Linked DNA regions of Homo sapiens: region 1 is linked to region 2. Evidence: promoter capture Hi-C in human tissues and cell types (Jung and others, 2019). All regions are on one chromosome and are shown on one strand. Each heading gives the region's core, a stretch centred on a gene start or on the middle of the fragment in contact. The rest is flanking DNA. Distances are from core to core; before and after follow the strand shown.

The links. Contacts are between HindIII fragments. The study calls those that stand out against the background at their distance.
Region 1: a fragment that was not itself captured here is called in contact with the fragment with the promoter of C16orf78 in region 2 in 1 of the 25 tissues and cell types used here (dorsolateral prefrontal cortex).

What each region holds. Positions count from the first base shown.
Region 1 is chr16:48,724,568-48,728,738 of GRCh38, reverse strand. The region is part of intron 1 of LOC105371240 (a long non-coding RNA gene); the gene reads right to left. It also overlaps the pseudogene KLF8P1. Among named protein-coding and RNA genes, the nearest start is that of N4BP1, 120 kb to the right of the region's middle. The HindIII fragment of the contact is 3,311 bases long and covers 860-4,170 here.
Region 2 is chr16:49,371,930-49,376,116 of GRCh38, reverse strand. It overlaps C16orf78 (chromosome 16 open reading frame 78), which reads right to left and starts at 2,313. Exons shown (of 5, transcript NM_144602.4): 1 at 2,028-2,313. The coding sequence starts at 2,177. LOC105371244 (a long non-coding RNA gene) reads left to right here. Exons shown (of 8, transcript XR_001752167.2): 8 at 1,187-3,793. RefSeq lists enhancers at 1,399-2,129, 2,130-2,860. The HindIII fragment of the contact is 5,141 bases long and covers 503-4,187 here.

The sequences.
Region 1 (4,171 bases), core at 1,266-3,765, 650 kb after region 2:
ATTATGAGTAGATGTGAGATGTGAGGAGAACTACTGCCTCTCCATACTCATCTGAGTGTGAAACCGCTCCACACAGGAAACAGAGCCAAGAGAACTACTGAGAAATGCACACAGAGCTACAAAATTTGGTCAACTATAAAGCTTACCTTGCACCTAAATTTCTGGTTCTGTGAGTCAATAAACATCCTTATTGCTTCAACCAAAGAAAGTTGAGTTTTCTGTTTCTTGAGCTCAAAATCTTTCCAACTGATTCATCATCTAGCCTCACTATCCATCAACACCATTTTCTCCCACTATGCATGCTGTGGCTACCCCAGAAAAGCTTATTTATTTATTTTTGAGACAGGGTCTCGCTTGGTCACCAAGGCTGGAATGCAGTGGTGCTATCTCAGCTCACTGCAGCCTCAACCTCCAAGGCTCAAGTGATCCTCCCACTTCAGCCTCCCAAGTAGCTGGGACTACAGGCATGCACAACCATGCCTAGCTATTTAAAAAAAATTATATATATATATACATATATATATATATATATTAGAGACAGGGTCTATCTATGCTGCCCAGGCTTGTTTAATGCTATGGAAGATTTCAATTCAGGAAATGGTGTCACTTTTTTCCCTGAGATGTCTTTCCATGGAATCCTCCAACTCTGAAGTCCACAGGCTGTCAGACTCATCACCTCTTCCTCACCATTTGTGTATTAAATCACCCAACATTTATTGAGTCTTGTACTGGGCTTCCCACTGTCCTGCATTGGAAAGATGAATCCCAGTTCTGAAGAAGTCAAGATTATGTGCAAAAGAGAGAGAGACAGCTCTTCTGGTTCCATGACTTTGGATTATGTTAAAAATGACTTTTCTTCAGTGCAGCCCACGTGGTCTCAAATGCCTGAGTCTCTCTGGGCCTCCATTTGACCCTTTGTAAAATGACCCTTTCCATCTCCAAGAGTCCATGGGCCTATGACTTATGGTAGCTTTCTTTTTGTATTGCTATTGTTTGAGTGTTTGCGTTTCTCCAAAATTCTTGTTGAAACTTAATCCTCAATGCAATAGTATTAAGAAGTGGGGCCTTTAGGAGGTAATTAGGTCATGAAGGTCCCACCAGATTATTGCCTTTATTAAATGTCTTGAGGGACCAAGTATGCCCCTTTTAGCCCTCCTTGCATGTGAGGACACAGTATTCATCTGCCACTATGCAAAGGCACAGCAACAAGGCACCATCTTGGAAGCAGAGAGTGACCCCTTACCAGACTCTGAATCCACTGCATCTTAATCTTGAACTTTCCAGCCTCCAGAACTGTGACAAACAAACGTTCATTCTTTATAAAACACCAAGTCTAAGGTATTTTGTTACAGAAGCCTGAACAGACTAAGACAGGTGTCAATCTCTACAGTTAAGCTTCTATAGCAGACAATGAACCAGAGGTCATAAAGACTTCTTCATATTTTTTCAAAGCCAGAGTTCATGACTAAGTGAATTTGGCAGCACCATGAGCCAAGTCACACTCTTCCACATAGTTTATAGCAAAAAGTTTTCATAATGTAGCTACCCCATAACAAAAGTATTAGTCATCTCCCCAATATCAACCTTGAATTTCCCATTTCTCTACATTTTTCCCTTCCTAACTTCTTGCTTTAAATGGTATAGCACTATGGTCAAGTTAACTTAGACTAGAACCAGACTGTCTGTTTAATGCCCTCATTCTTTTTGACCCCCACATATCAATCAAGTGATCTTTCTGACCGTGACTCTTACCCTCCTCTCTCACGAACTTCCTTAAAATTCTTCCCTAGTTACAGTAAGACTACATTTGGTTCTCTTACATCTCTGAAAGCTATCACTTCTAAGCCACCTTGGCTAATGCCTCAGCATCATTCATGAGTTATGTGGAACTATCCCTAGGTCCCGTCCTTGCCTTCCTCCCCTTCTAAACTCATTCTCCTTGAGCACCTCCCATCTTGCAAGTAAGTCCCAGACCTGTGTTTTTTCATACCTTTCCTTCTTGTCTGTGCACCAACCCACATTCCGCCCATGTCTTCTCCCTCCTTCCGCTTCTTCAATCTATCAATTAGGATTCATCCAGCAAAAACAGAAACCCTACTAGGTGTTCCAAATGGAGAGAACTTAATACAAGCAATTGACTACTCCAGTGATGGAAGGTCCAAGAAGTCAAGCAGAAGACATTGAGGCAACCCAGAGATCAACCACAGAAGGAATATGACACCAACCCTAAGGATGGAGGGACAGCAAAAAAGGTTGGAATTACCAGAGCCTGAAAGCTGCAGCTGTCCAGCAGACCCTAAAATCATGGCAGGAGCTGCCTGTTGGAAATAAAACCAAGTAAAGAGAGGCTGTCTGGCTACAAATGGAATCAGAGATGAGAGGTAGACACCTCAAGCCATTCTACTAGAAACAGAGAGAGGAGGAGGAATATTCTCCAGCTTCTCCTCTCCCTCACTCTTCAGTCTTCCAAAAATGCTTTCCTGAACTAAATGTCAAAGGACGCTGGGAAATGTAGCTCCCTGTGACAAAGATCAGATGGGAAAAGGACAGGCAAACAGCCAGTTTACCCACCCAGCAAGCTTCATCTCTCAATACCCACATTCATTCAAGTAGCTTCATTCTTCAGTTCTCCAAACCCAAAACCTTCAGAGTCATGCTGAATCTCTTCCTCCTACTTCTTCTGGCCCTCTCTGCAGTTTAGCCAACTGCTCTGAATTTTCTGTAAAATAAACTTCTTGTTAACTCCTCTTCCACAGTTCTGCAGCCACCATTGCAGTACAGCCACCATTGCAGTATAGCCACACTGCAGCCACCATTGCAGTACATTCCTTTCATACCTGGTCTTCCTGTTTCTAGTACCTCTTCCCTTCCAGCCCGCCCACTAGCTCCACATTTTCATTGGGAAGATGGAGCCCTGGTCCCAGCAGTTTCTGCAGAAGTCTCAGGTCTGACTATCTTTCCCTAAGCTTGGTCACATGATCTTCCATGAACCAATCACTGGACAGGTGAAAGGCATGTCCATGTCAGCTAAACAGAGAGAAGATGGAAGACTTATCTATTTATTTTGATAAATGTAAAAATAGTGCTTCTGATTGGTTGGGCTTTAGTCACATCTCATCCTTGAAACCAGAAGTAGGGTCAGCCAGAAAGTGAGTGAAGGGTAGTTCTCCAAAGGAAAAACAAGATTCTGTTTTTAAAAGTATAAGGAATGAATGTTGTAGAGAGGAAAAAAGCAAGGGTATGATACACATTCCTTTCATTGTCTCTCCTGCAAAAGAAACCAACAAATCTCTATTCCTTAGCTGATTTCAAGACTGTGTTATGTTGCAGAAAGACTAGAAACAACCTAAACATCCATCAATGGGGAATGACTAAAGCTAAATGGAGTGATGTGCCATGGTCTTAGGCTTTATTGTTTCATCCAAGGATCAAAGAAAAGAACACACTACAATTTTTTTTATTATACTTTAAGTTCTAGGGTACATGTGCACAACGTGCAGGTTTGATGCATAGGTATACTTGTGCCATGTTGGTTAGCTGCCCTCGTCAACTCATCATTTACATTAGGTATTTCTCCTAATTCATCCATGTCCCTACAAAGGACGTGAACTCATCCTTTTTATGACTTCATAGTATTCCATGGTGTATATGTGCCACATTTTCTTAATCCAGTCTATTATTTATGGACATTTGGGTTGGTTCCAAGTCTTTGCTATTGTGAATAGTGCCACAATAAACATACGTGTGCATGTGTCTTTATAGTAGCATGATTTATAATCCTTTGGGTATATACCCAGTAATGGGATTGCTGGGTCAAATGGTAATTCTAGTTCTAGGGATCACCACACTGTCTTCCACAATGGTTGAACTAATTTACACTCCCACCAACAGTGTAAAAGCCTTCCTATCTCTTCACATCCTCTCCAGCATCTGTTGTTTCCTGACTTTTTAATGACTGCTGTTCTAACTGGTGTGAGATTGTATCTCATTACGGTTTTGATTTGCATTTCTCTGAGGGCCAGTGATGATGAGCATTTTTTCATGTGTTTATCGGCTGCATAGATGTCTTCTTTTGAGAATTATCTATTCATATCCTTTGCCCACTTTTGGATGGAGTTATTTGTTTTTTTCTCATAAAGGGTTTGTTTGAGTTCTTTGTAGATTCTGGATA
Region 2 (4,187 bases), core at 1,064-3,563:
CTGCTGCTGTCGGAGACCTGCCAGCACACATCATCTTCCTCTTAGAAGCTTCTTTAAAAGCCCAGATGCTTCTGGGAAAGGTAATGATGCTTGAAGACTTAATTATATTTCCCATGTAAACTTGCTCCCTCTCTAGGTCCAAAGTTATTTACAATAAAAGCCACATTTAAGGTAAAGTTGTTAAAATGTGATTATTAGAATCTTATCCTGGTAAAAGGAGATAGACCTGAACATATTAACCAGGGAAGTGAATGTAATTCCTGTGATGATATTAAATTGAGTTTGGAGAGACCCAGAAGTCAAGCTTCCCCTTCGCCCCCAAATCAAGGCAGTGGGTAGGCTATCTGTAAATCATTAGCACCTTAGAGTAAAATATGTTTGTCAGATGTGTCTGATGGAATTGGCACTCGAGATCTTTCTGACTATAAATGGTAAGTGGTATGGTTTGGATCTGCGTCTCTCCCCAAATCTCATGTCAAGTTGTAATCTCCAGTGTTGGAGGTGGGGCCTGGTGGGAGGTGATTAGATCATAGGGGCACTTTCTCATGGTTTAACACGATTCCCCTTGGTACTGTCATGAAGGCGAGAGTTCTCGTGAGATCCAGTCATTTAAAAGTGTGTGTGGCACCTCGTCCTCCCACTTCTTGCTCTTGCCATGTGAAGTGCCTGCTCCTCTTTTGCCTTCTGCCATGATTGTAAGCTTCCTGAGACCTCCCCAGAAGTGGAATCTCCTATGCTTCTTGTACAGCCATGAGCCAATTAAACATTTTTTTTTATTTTTTTTTTAAATAAATGACCCAGTCTCAGGTATTTCTTTGTAGCAGTATGAGAATGGACTAATACAGTAAGTAAGCACACAAACATAATGGAAGCTTTCCCCAAAGGCAGGTGCTGACCTGGATAAAGCAGAGGAGTCTATGCATTTGGGAATTGGAAAACCTCAGTTTGAGCCCTGGCTCTGCCCTTTATTACTTCTGTGACTTCAATAAAATGACTTATTTTCACTTTCCTTATCCTTCAACTAGGGGTAAAAATGGTGCCTCCCTGGTAGCCTGACTGGGAGCAATTGACCACATAACCCAGGTACAAATCTAAGCACAGGGCCTTGACCACAGTAAACATTAAAAGTTAGTGATGTGTTGAGCATTGTTATTAGTAATGGCATTTTTTACTCATTTTGCTCTAGGGTCAGGAGATTCAAGACCAGGTGGCATCTTCTGCAGAGGACACCACTTTCCAAAGACATGGCTTGGTTCTTCATAGATGATAGGTCTTGGGGGAGCTCTGGGAAAAACTAAGGCAAACTTGGTTGCTACATTTCTTGGAGAAAGAGGAAAGGGTGGGTTAGAACTAGCTCGATGTAGGGTAGAAAAGAGGAGGTATGTTAGCTGGAGTTGCAGTTGCAGTAATGGCAGTGAGGAATGAATGTTCTTTGATTCTGAAGGCATCACAAGGAGAGAAGAGCTGAGGGCAGTAGGAGGATCCCATCCTGCAATATGGAGACCCAGAAGCCACTGCCCCTTGGCCCTTCTAGAATTCTGACCAATACTAACATTTGCCCAGCTTGACTAAACTTTAGACAGGTTTCTTCCTGATGATAGGCCCTTGGCCTCCTTTTCCTTAGAGCATTTCCTCTAGAAAACTTGGATTTGTAAATTTTTTCTCTGCCCCTTTGAGATGTAAATCTCTCAGTCTCTTGCTAGTTTTACAATCCAGGAATGTTTTTCTCAAGGACCTGGGAGGACCCTTTGAAATGTAATCATCAAGAAAGATTGTACCTTGTCTCTCAGTCTCTGTGAGAGGATGGGAGCCTAACATTTATAAGTGCGAATTAGCAACACAGACAGCCTAATCATATTAACTAATTCCCCCACCCCCTTAATGTCCTTGGGTAGTTCTCACTAGCTTATCCCAGCACTTCAAAACCATCCCGCCTTTTGTTTCAGGAGAGTTAAGTTCAATCTCTCTCCCCTACTGCAACTACCTTGAGTAAAGTCTTCCTGCCATTTCTCTTGGATGGTACCCACCTCGGGAGCTTGTTTCTTCTTCCCCTGCCTCCGCTCCAGCCACTCCAGCACACAGGTGAGGTCAGACATGCGCCTATCTTCAGCAGTCTTCCACATGTATTTCCTCTTTGTGGGCATTAAATCCTTCAGGTCCATTTGTTGCTCTGACATTGTGGAGTCTTGCTAGTGGCTTGGGTGGGAGGTGGCTGGCACTGTCTCACTCTTTCGATCCCTTTGTCTGGACTTGATGGCCTGGTGACTTAGAAGGTAGGGTGTGGCCTCCAGATGTGAACATAAAGGGCAGAGTGAGCCAAGACCCTGGGATATTGGCCTTAAAAGGTGGAAGGCCTGGGCAGTGATTGTGAAGTCATTGCCCGTCTTGGTAGCTGGCCCTGAGGTCAGAGTGGAGGTGGGACATTGGCCACCTCCCACTGTTCTCCATGTGGCCACTACCCCTCTTCAGGCGCTATGTCTCCTCTGGACTCTGCCACAGCCTCCTTGCAGCCTCTCCACCTCTACCTCCACAGAGATCTTAATAAAATAAAGGTCTGTCCACGCATCTTCCTTTCTCAAAAACCTTCAATGGCTCCTTGTTGCCTATCTAAAAGAAATCTGAATTCTTTAGTTTGGCATCCTATCTTTCTGTAGTGTACTCTAATTAGAAGAAAGCTTTTTATAAGCCCAATTCGTCTATATTCATTTATTCATCCAACATGTGGTTATCAGGCACCTACTAAGTATTGGGAATGGTGCTGGGGATACAATGCAGGAAAAAAACATAGGCAAACCTCCTAAGACATATGGGCTAGTGGAAAAGACAGGGCAGATAATTACCGTATGAATTCATAATGACAAGTGAAGATGAGTGCTTTCAAAGAAAGGAATGTAGTTCTATGAAAGGCCATATCAATGGTACTAGACTTGGATGGGGTGGTGGGTAGGCCACCTTTGAGCTCTGAGCTAAAGGATAAATAGACTTCAACAGGGCTGTTATGGTCTGGACATTTCTGTCCCTCCAAAATTCATGTGCTGAAATCCTAACCCCCAAGGTGATGGCATTAAAAGGTGGGGTCTTGGGAGGTAATTAGGTCATGAGAGCAGTTCTCTCATGATTGGAATTGGTGCCCTTGCAGAAGAGACTAGAGAGAGCTCCACCATGTGAAGATGTAGTGAGAAGGTGTCACCAGGAAATGGGTTCAGCAGACAACGGAATCTGTCAGAGCCTTAATTTTGGATTTCCTAGGCTTCAAAAATGTGATAAATGAATGTTTGTTGTTTATAAGCTACCCACTTTGTGGTATTTTGTCATAGGCCCAAATGGATTAAGATAAGGGCTTTGGACCAGAGAAATATGCCTGTGCAAAGGCCCTGTGACAAGCGGGAGGCATGGCACTAACAACAGAAGGCAAGGGTGACTAGAGTACCAGAGGCAAAGAGGCAATGGTACAGAGGTGGCCAGAGGCCAGGCCATCCAGGAACTTGGTAGCCACAGGTTCTGCTCAGACTGGGAAGGGAAAGGGAGCAAAGGAAAACAATAAAGGAATTCAAAAAAAGGGGAGGGAGTGGCATGGTCAGGCTTCCCTTTTTTGCTCTAGTAAACTTCTATTGAAGGAAATTATATATACAAAAATGTGCCAGAATCACAAATGAAGACATCTATGTAACCAGTACCCCAGAATCTTCCATACAGCCCCTGGTAGTTATTACCACCCTCCAAGGGTAAACATCATCTTATCATCCAATTTCTTTTTTTTTTTTTTTGAGACAGAGTCTCGCTCTGTCACCCAGGCTAGAGTCGGCTTACTGCAACCTCCGTCCCCCAGGTTCAAGCGATTCTCCTGCCTCAGCCTCCTGAGTAGCTGGGATTACAGGCGCACTGTAATTTTTGTATTTTTAGTAGAGACGGGGTTTCACCATGTTGGCCAGGCTGGTCTTGAACTCCTGACCTCGTGATCCACCTGTCTCGGCCTCACAAAGTGCTGGGATTACAGGCGTGAGCCACCGTGTCCGGCCTTATTATCCAATATCAAACTTTTTCTTCCTGTTATTGAGTTAAATATAAACCAAATAATATGCATGTGATATTTTACATCTGGATTTATTAATTTTGCAATATATTTGTAAGATTTTAGAAATAATGAATTATTTTGTCTTTGTTTATATGGTAATGTCTTTATTTTA